Regions from separate parts of the Homo sapiens genome. Here region 2 is linked to region 1. Evidence: promoter capture Hi-C in 16 types of primary human blood cells and fetal thymus (Javierre and others, 2016). All regions are on one chromosome and are shown on one strand. The core of a region is centred on a gene start or on the middle of the fragment in contact, and the rest is flanking DNA. Distances in the headings are between cores, read along the strand shown.

Region 1 (4,650 bases), core at 2,000-4,499:
AAGCTGAGTATTATTTGTGCTGCCATACTTGAGTTTTTTTCTCATATGGGACTTAACTATTATCAATCCAGTTACTATGCTCATATGCATATAGATGGTGTCAACATTCTGGCTGGGAAATGCAGAGAAACTTTGCAAAGCATGGTCTCAGTATCCAAACACTTGGCATTTCTGGGGAAACTAGGAAATAGATTGGTTAATATGATCTTTGATATGCTTGAACTTAATATTGGAGGGGAAAGTAAGGGGGTGAGAGGTAAGGCAAGATTGGAGTTCATTTAGCTACTTTTATTTTTATTTTTTGAGACTGAGTTTTGCTCTGTCGCCCAAGCTGGAGTGCAGTGGTATATGATCTTGGCTCACTGCAACCTCCGCCTCCCGGGTTCAAGTGATTCTCCTGCCTCAGCCTCCTGAGTAGCTGGGATTACAGGTTTGTGCCACCATGCCCACCTAATTTTTGTATTTTTAGTAGAGACGGGGTTTCACCATGTTGGCAAGGCTGGTCTCGAACTCCTGACCTCAGGTGATCCGCCTGCCTCAGCCTCCCAAAGTGTTGGGATTACAGGCGTGAGCCACTGCACCCAGCCTGCTACTTTTATATCTATGTTTGAAATGTCCCACGACAGAGTGTGAAACAAGAATAAAAAGGCAAGCTTGGTCACTTTGGGAGACATAGGCAATCATGCTGAGAGAAGGGAACAGGGAAGAAGGTCAGAGAGGAGGGAAGAGGAAGACCTAATAATGGCATCCAAGTCCCGGTTCTAATGGTACTTGGGGCATCTTTGGATGCAAGTGAGCCAATAGTATGGGCTGAAGTTCTATCACTTACAACTAAGAGTCCTGTCTCCTTCATGAATGCAATAAACATGTTTGGGGGCAATTTTATATAAGCACGGTGCAAAGAAGCCCTTGTGTTCGCAGCCTGGGCATTGCGGAAAGCTTTTTGGAGTTTTTACTGAATTCTCTCATGTTCTTCTGTATGCATTAGGAAACAGGCTAGAGAGGACAGTATTCTGGAAGGTCATGATGCCAGAAGTGTGGGCCCCAGGACAGCCATGCAAAGTCTCTTCTTTGCCCTGGGCTGCCCTCTATTAGATTCTGAGCATGTGGGTCTAAAAGCCAGGAGAGAATTCAGCAGTTGTTGAGAAGCATACCCCTCTGCTGCTGGTCCCCTCCCTGCAGTGTGTTCCCAAGGTGGCCCCAGGCCTGTCTAGACGCTGGCTGTGAAGGGCACGCTCCTGTAGGGGCAGCCGGCTCTTCCACAGTGAGGTCTGTCAGAAAGCGCCCACGATAGGCAGGAATCCACTTTCTCATCTAATTTCCACCCATCTGTCCTCATTCTGCCCTTCATAACACCACAGAGTAATCCTTCTTCCCGGGACAGTTTTGCACATATTGGGGTTCTTCTGTCTTGTGCTCCACACATTGATTTTCTAGGCTGAAGACTCCCGGTGGGTCAACTCCCCTCCCACGGGATACTGCTGGCTGCCTTAGACACCAAGCAAGGGCATGGTATTCTAGATGTGTCTGACTAGTGAGGAATAAAAGAGAGTCCCCCCACCCCACCCCAATCAGTGCAATGCTTGCATGTGTAGATCCTAAGCGTGCATCCCTCCTTGGGTATAGAATGCTGTTAAACCAGTTCTGTCCTAATCCGTTCCCATTATGTTTCAATCCAAATGGGATGTGGAACATGGATTCATGGACCCCTACAATTGGAAAAGAGCTTGGAAAAGACTTCTCTAGTTTTTCCTGTAATAGTCACCAGCACTGAACCCGAGCACACGGTGCAGTGGGCTTTACCTGCCATTCTCTCTCCGTGCTCCCCAAACCCTCCAGGACGACCACACTGTCCTCATGTTGCAGGGTACAGAGGTTTGCTGAGGCCTGAGGTTATTTGGAAACTGCAGAGCTGTGAGTCAAGGGAGTCTATCAGATTCCAGGTCTGGATTCTTCAGCAAGAGGGTGGTGGCTGCCATGCCGTAGAGGGAGGAGGGGGTGCGTGCTCCACCCCACCCTGCTTGACACCAGCTTTGCCATCTTAGCCTTTGCTGGGCCGAAGCCCTATTCTCAGAGCTCCGGCACTGAACCACAGAAACCACAGGAGGCCCTAGAACGGAACTCTGAGACTGTTGGGCCTTTAACTCTGTGACTGTTGGGCCTGGGACTGGCTTCATTTGTAAACTCTGGCTCTCAGAGCCAGTGCTCAGCAGGAAAACAGCCTCAGGGCCCCTGCCCCTCAACAGCAGTCTGTAGTCCAGGGAGGTATCACCTGGCCTGGAGAGGGGCTCCCCAACTCCTCACATTTAGGGGAAATCTTAGCTGGTTCCGTAAGAAACTGTGTCCCCTTCTCAGGACTGTGTTCCTCAATAGGCCTCCCAGCCTGGCCAGTCACTGTGCGAGCCCTGTCACCTCTCCTGGGGGCAGAGGGAAGAGGTCTGGATGGAGCAGCACCATCTCTGAGGGCCCCCAGATCCCCAAACCCATGGGCTAGTCACAAACAAGTCTCACCAGCAGCCTCACAGGAGGACCATTTGCCATACAGAGTGGAAAATGATGAACGTTTGGCAAAAGGCTAGCACGGGGGTTCAGGGAAACCAAGACTCCAGGTGGTGCCAGCCCCTCCCCTGGGGAATGGGAGCAGCCTGGTGTGAAATATTCTTGCCCAAAGTCAGCAGCCAAGTGTTCTGGGTGCCACGTGCCTCACGCACACTGCAGGTCAGGTTCTCAGAAGAGCTGGCCCAGGGTCTGGGGGTGAAAAAAAACTGGGGGATTTGGGGGAGGCCTGGAAAGGGTGGGGTTCATCCAGGACCCCAGAAGGGGCAAGCTTGTCTATTGAGAGCTGGTGAGGAAGAGGGTGACAGGGCACCTCTTGGTCCTGGGAACGGGTGCTTGACTCAGCAGAGACCAACCCAGGGCTGAGGGACAACCCTCTGGGCCTGGCGGGGAGGCAAGAGAGATGGGAGGTGAGGAGGAAGGAGTGGGGAGCAAAAGTGGGGAGAAGGGGAGAGAGGTGGAAGAGTGTTGCGAAGGTGAAGAAAGAGGAGGAAAAAGAGAAGGGAGGAAAAGAAAGGTTGGGGGAGGGAAAGGAGGGAGGTGAGCAGGGGCGAGGAGGAGGGAGGAGGAAGGAGGAAGAAAGGGGCGGGGCCATAGGAGGGAAGAGAAGAAGGGGGAGAGGAAGGGGAAGGGAAAGGGGAGGAGGCGGGAAGGGAGGGGGAGCGGAGGAGGGGCCTGCGCGCCCGCCCCGCGCACTCCGTCCCCGCGCCGGCCTCAGCGCTCTCGCGCGCCGCAGCATCCCAGCCGCCGCTGCCGCCGCCGGGCCTCCCCGCCACCCCCTCCCCGGCCCGGCCGCCTCCCGCCGCTGCCGCCGCCGCCGCCGCCGCCATTCCTGGCGCCCGAACTCGCCCGGCCGGGAGCCGCCGCGGGCAGGACGCGCGCTGCAGGTAAGCGGCCGGGCTGGCGCGGGAGGGAGGGCGCGCGGGGCCGGGCAGGTGCGCTGGGGGCGGCCTGGACCCTCCGCGGAGCCCCCACTCCACACCCCTAGGCTCCTCACCGGACCCTCGGGGCCCTCCCCGAACCCCTGCAGGAGCCTCCTTCTGGGATCCCCGGACCCCTGGACTCCTTCCTGGATCCCCCCGGGGCCCCTCCTGGGACGCCTCCCAGAGACACCTACCCGGACCCCTCCGACCCCCTGGACCTCTCTGCTATCCCTCCCCGGCCTTCTCCCCTTCCCGGTTGCCTCCCCAGTCCCTGCGCGCAGGTGGCTCCTCTGGGCGCGGGGGAGCGGGGGCGCGCTGCATACCCGGGCCAGGGAGGGGGCGGTGCGCTCGGCCAGGCCCCGTCGCGCCCCGGCCCGCCCAGTCCGGCCCCGCCAGGTCAGGCCCCACTCCGGCCAGCCGGGCTCTGGCCGGGCCCCCGCGGGCTTCTATTTTGGTCGCGGAGGCCGCGGACCCTGTGCACTGGACCCGGCGCCGCGCACTCAGACAGGTGGGGCAGGTTGGGCCGCAGTGGTCAGGTCGCCGCCTTGGCAGTGAGTGCTGCAGGCCTCGGTTTCCTTTCGGGTTTTGGTTGCATTATTCTAGAACAGCCCAGGAGAACCACAAGCCTTAGCTTGGGCTGCACCTGTTGCAGCCGCCTAGTGAGCTGCAAGGGGCTGGCTCTACTGGGGTTATGCCAGTAAAAACGTGTAAAGGAGAGTTGAACTCGTGGTTGTCCTCTATTTTCTGGCTTAGTATTTTGGGGGGTAGGTGGGAGAGTGGGTGAATGGGAGTCTGTAAGTGGGCAGTTTGCGTCAAATGAGGCCTGGTGTCGAGGGCTGGGTCCTGCTTTCCGGAAGGTTTTCCACATGAAGTTGCTTTGCTTTTGTTTTGAAAACCTCACTCTGTGTTGAGCACATCCCAGGCTCGTGGGTGGCCAGGCCCCCGAAGGCCAAGCTGGACGTGGGGCCTGGGGCCAAGCATCTCACCCTGCTGTTCTGAGTCTTTTCAAATCCACCAGGCGCCACGGAACGGAAGTTTCCTTTCCTGGGGGTGACGTGACACCAGTGGCCTGTCACCTCATATGTGTCCTAGGCCTGGGGCCTGCCTGCTGGCTGCCCAGGCGAGGTTATTTGGGAATGTTTACTGTGTCCCAGAAACAGGCAGCTCTGGC
Region 2 (4,573 bases), core at 1,422-3,921, 1.3 Mb before region 1:
CCTGGGTTTAGTTCTGGTGTTTCTTTTGCTTTTCATTGATCTATCTAATATCCAATAGGATGTTGCTGCTTTAATTACTACAGCTTTGTAATTTTGCTTCATTATAATTTTTTTTTTCAGGATTTGAGAAACTCTGAGGGCAAAAGCTTCTCCCCTCACAAGATGAGATTTTAACTTTTATTATCAGTACACATAGAAAATACGTATGTGTATGGATTCATAGACAACAGATTCTCTGATTCAGTTTTGAGAATAACTCAAACCCACCAATCATTGATTGGCACCATGTTGGGGGATTCACGCTTCTATTTTGAGAGTGGGATGGATAGCACTCAGCATCTCAGTGTGTGCATCATCACTGGTGCACAAGTCCCCTCCAGATGTCAGCTTTGCTCTGGGACTGGTTTGCTCCATCCCTGGGGGCAGAGGTACATCCAGCAATTTTGCTCCGGGGTCCTGTCTCTAGGATAGAAGAGGTTTTAGAATCTCTAAGTTACAGTTTTGGAGAACTCCAATATTTATAAAGTTCTTTCACACGTTTTACTTCCTAAGACATCTCTCTCTCTCTCTTTGTGTGTGTGGGTTAAAGCTGCTTTCTGAAGTTAAGACTTTGTCCTTTATTGTCACACAGTTTAGGTGTTTGGAGACTACTATTACCAGCATGGCAAAGTGGCCTACAGCACTGACCGTGGAGCCAGATTTGGTTCAACTCCCAAGTTTATAACCTACTAGCTGTGTGACTTTGTGCAAGTTACTGAGCCTCTCTGGGCCTTGGTTTCCTGATGTGTAATAGACTCTCCCTCTTGCATCTGGGCTGCCCTATTACTGCTTTGACCAAGAGAGTGTGGCAGAAGTGACGGCATTTTTATTTTAAGCCTAGCCTTTTAGAGGATGGACAGCTTAGGTCTTGGTCTCTTGGAACCCTGAACTGCCATGTAAGAACTCCAAAGATTGCTGGAGAGGCCAAAGGGTGGGGCAGAGTTGGAGGTGCAAAGCTGAGCCCAGTCTTCCCCAATCTTTGCCAAGGCTGTGTTAACAGCCTGAAAGCCAGCTGAGTGCCTAGTTAATGCCATGTGAAGCAGAAGAATCACCTAGCTGAGCTCCGCCTGAGCTTCTGAGTCACAAAATCGTGAGATATTTAAGAATGATTGTTGTTTCAAGGCACCAGGTTTTGGGGTAATATGTTACATAGCTTACCTAGTAATAGCTAACCAGAACAGGTAGTGGTGTGAGGTTGTGCCTAGGGCCAACTTCATAATCTGTGGGGCCCAGTACAAAATAAAAAATGGATCCTGGTTCAAAAAGCAAAATAAAATGGCCATTAAAGGTATTAAAATATAAAACCTTTTTTCTCTTCTGTTGTCTCTTTCAAGATGTCAGTGTTTTTTTAAATTTGCTATTGAATGTCATTCTAACTAAATAAAAATAGAAATTATAAATTATTAATACGGACTTTACCATTTATCTTTACATAGAATTTGTTATGCCAGTTTTAAATGTAAACATAAAAACATTGGACTCGTATGCGGAATCACCAAAATTACACAATTTGCACTTTGTAGTTCTTATGTGCTTATATAGTTCATTCTTTACGAGAACAGTGGTGATGCTGCACAAAACAAACTCAGTCATTTCTATTTCACTTCTTGCTATGTGCACAAGCACCAGCACCCTCTCAGCACCAGCAGTCTGCAGGCAGAGTCTGCCATTAAAGGGGTCGTGACTACCTTGGGAAATACACTGTGGTCCATTAAAGGGGTCGTGACTACCTTGGGAAATACACTGTGGTCCAGAGCACACCAGGCACCAGGAATCGTGACCTTTTATCTGGATGCAGGAAAGAGAAATGATCTTTGAGGTCCAGGGTGCATATTGGAGTGGCGTAATAGGAGCTAGGGGGAGAGAAGTTATCATCCTTCTTGTGGGTGTTAAAGAAACATCCAAATTAGGATGGCAGTCACGTGTATATTTCACATTCCGCGGCTATTTTCATGGCCTTACTGGGAAATGTGCCTGGGAATTAGATTTTCTTATACACGTGTCAAGCCCTGGGAGTGTTATTTGAAAGCGTGCTATTTCTTTATGAAATTTAATACTTTTGTCCTTGGAAAATGTCTGAGATATTGCTGACCAAGGATGTTTTTAGTATACAGCTGATAACACTGTTATTGTTGTACTCTGATACATCTCGATAGCAAGCCAAATTAACATGACATTCTGCACCTTTACGATCTACCATCTAACTTTCCTAGATAAATTCTGAGAAATAAAAATAAAATTCTAAGTCCCCTAACTAACTGAATGGACTCCCTCTTTGTCCAAGGAGCCTCAGAGAAGCCTTAAAAACTGAGTTGCCAGCCATGCCAGGCACACAGGAGGTGGGACACGCCTTGTTATGCCACCTCCCTTACTGCCATCAATCTTCCTTCTCTAACAGACAGAAACCAGCTCTTTTGAAAGACTCGCTTCACCTCTGATTTACACAACAACTGACTGGCATTCCTTCCTGATAAAAGACCACTGGCCGTAGACTGGCTCTGGCAGGTATTCACAGGCTGCAGACAACATGCCCCTGTGTCCTTGCTTTCACTTTGTGACATACAGAGTGAAATTATAATGCAATTAAATGTAAGTCTTCACCCCAAATGAATATGAGATGAATGTAACATGGATGTTTGCTTGCTATGAATGTGTGCACCCCCTTCATAATTATTCTCAGCCCTTCCTATAACTATTGAATATGTATACTTAGCTAGCCCATTCAGCCCAAATTTCTGTCTCACCTTTCCCTCTTTCAAAGTGCCTGCTTTTGGTTTCTACCAGAAGCTATGCTTCCCAGCCTGCACAGTGGGCAGCCTGCTGGATGCAAGCCTTTATAAGAAATAACACTCTCCTCTCCAAATTTATGAATCTCATGATTCTTTAGTTAACAATTACCCAAGCCAGATACTTCTTACTTGATGAATATTTCTTAGGTGAAGAGCAGCTGAACTTTAATACAAAATTCACATATTTATTTGTCTTTAAAACACTGTGTAATTGGCTGGGTGCAGTGGCTCACACCTGTAATCTCAGCACTTTGGGAGGCTGAGGTGGGCAGATCACCTGAGGTCAAGAGTTTGAGACCAGCCTGACCAACATAGAGAAATCTCGTCTCTACTAAAAATACAAAATTAGCCGGGTGTGGTGGTACATATCTGTAATCCCAGCTACTCGGGAGGCTGAGGCAGGAGAATCGCTTGAACCCAGGAGGTGGAGGTTGTGGTGAGTGGAGACTGTGCCATTGCACGCTAGCCTGGGCAACAAGAGCGAAACTCCATCTCAAAACAAACAAACAAACAAACAAAAAAACATGGTCTAATCCATTCTACAGCACATTTCTACAATCATCAAAAGTGGAAGCTCAATATGGAGAAACAGAGACATACCTGCAAAAATTTTTGTATACAGTTTTTTCAAGATCTCAGCTTTCCAATATAAAACATACATACTTTATGTTGACAAAACAATGAGAAATTGTCCTTACATCTCTCTGCCAACTGCATCTTCTTCCAACATCTATTATATATGCAATGTCTACTGAGCATTATGCAGGCCTAAGCTCTGGGGGTGCAGGACAGGCAAGGTCTCTATTTTGCAGAAGCAAACAGTTTAGCAGGCAGATAGGCAATCAACAGTAAACTGATAAATATGTGATATGTAAAGGCATGTTTAATAAGAGCCCTTTCTTTTGAAACAGGACACAATTGCAGGTGCTGGTTATTATACCAAGGCTTTGACTAGAATAACATTATTAGGTGAAGCTCCAGCAAAGTCAACTTGAAAAGAGTCTCTATGGCCAACTGTAAAAAGTAAAGTAGAGGTTCCTCTTCAAAGACTTTCCTCCCCGTCTAATTAGGAATAAATAGTAACTTCTCTTAGAAGCAAAATTTATTCAAAGACCTGTGCTAACATTCTTAAATATCTGCTAGCCATAATAAAAAAATCAATATACAATTTATGTTCCTAGCTCCCACAATTTAGCCTAAATATTTGCCCTGGCATGCTTATACTGGTCCAAGCAAGCATTAGGTCATAGCCTGTTCCTCTTCCTTATTTAAAAGTGTTTTTACCTTTCTCAGCCTTCCACTAGTTACTTCCTCCTTCCTTTGTTCCCCTCTACCTTTGCCTCTTTTAAAAAGTTCTAAGTTGCTAGCCAATCAGGACAAATACAGAATGCGAGCTCTTGTTCCAGCCAATGGAAACTGGACACAACAGTAGGGTGGACACGTCAGGTTATAAATGACCCTGTCTCCTTTGTTCAGTGTACTCTCATGGCAAAACTGCTGGCGAGTGTACCCTTTCTGCAGGAAGTAAAAGTGGCCTTACTAAATAAATTAAATTTATGTTCAAGTGCTATTTCTTTATGGCACCAAAGAACAAGCATTTCAAACCAAGTAATTCCTGCTGCGCTTTATGTGAATAATCAAGCCAAGTGTAATAAGCCAAAAACTTATTCTGCACACAAATTGGTCTTACTATAATTTCTCTTTAGTAGAAAAGGAGGGCTAGAGAATCAGAGAAAAATTGTTTC

The links. The method cuts DNA at HindIII sites, captures the fragments that hold promoters and counts their contacts. A CHiCAGO score of 5 or more calls a contact.
Region 2: a contact is called between a fragment that was not itself captured here and the fragment with the promoter of SEMA4D in region 1, in 1 of 17 cell types (total B cells). The highest score is 6.6, in total B cells.

Annotation. Positions count from the first base shown.
Region 1 is chr9:89,496,712-89,501,361 of GRCh38, reverse strand. SEMA4D (semaphorin 4D) reads left to right here and starts at 3,249. Exons shown (of 16, transcript NM_001371194.2): 1 at 3,249-3,443. RefSeq lists silencers at 3,160-3,349, 3,780-3,929. The HindIII fragment of the contact is 2,547 bases long and covers 2,830-4,650 here.
Region 2 is chr9:90,781,651-90,786,223 of GRCh38, reverse strand. No RefSeq gene overlaps it. Among named protein-coding and RNA genes, the nearest start is that of SYK, 18 kb to the left of the region's middle. The HindIII fragment of the contact is 5,045 bases long and covers 149-4,573 here.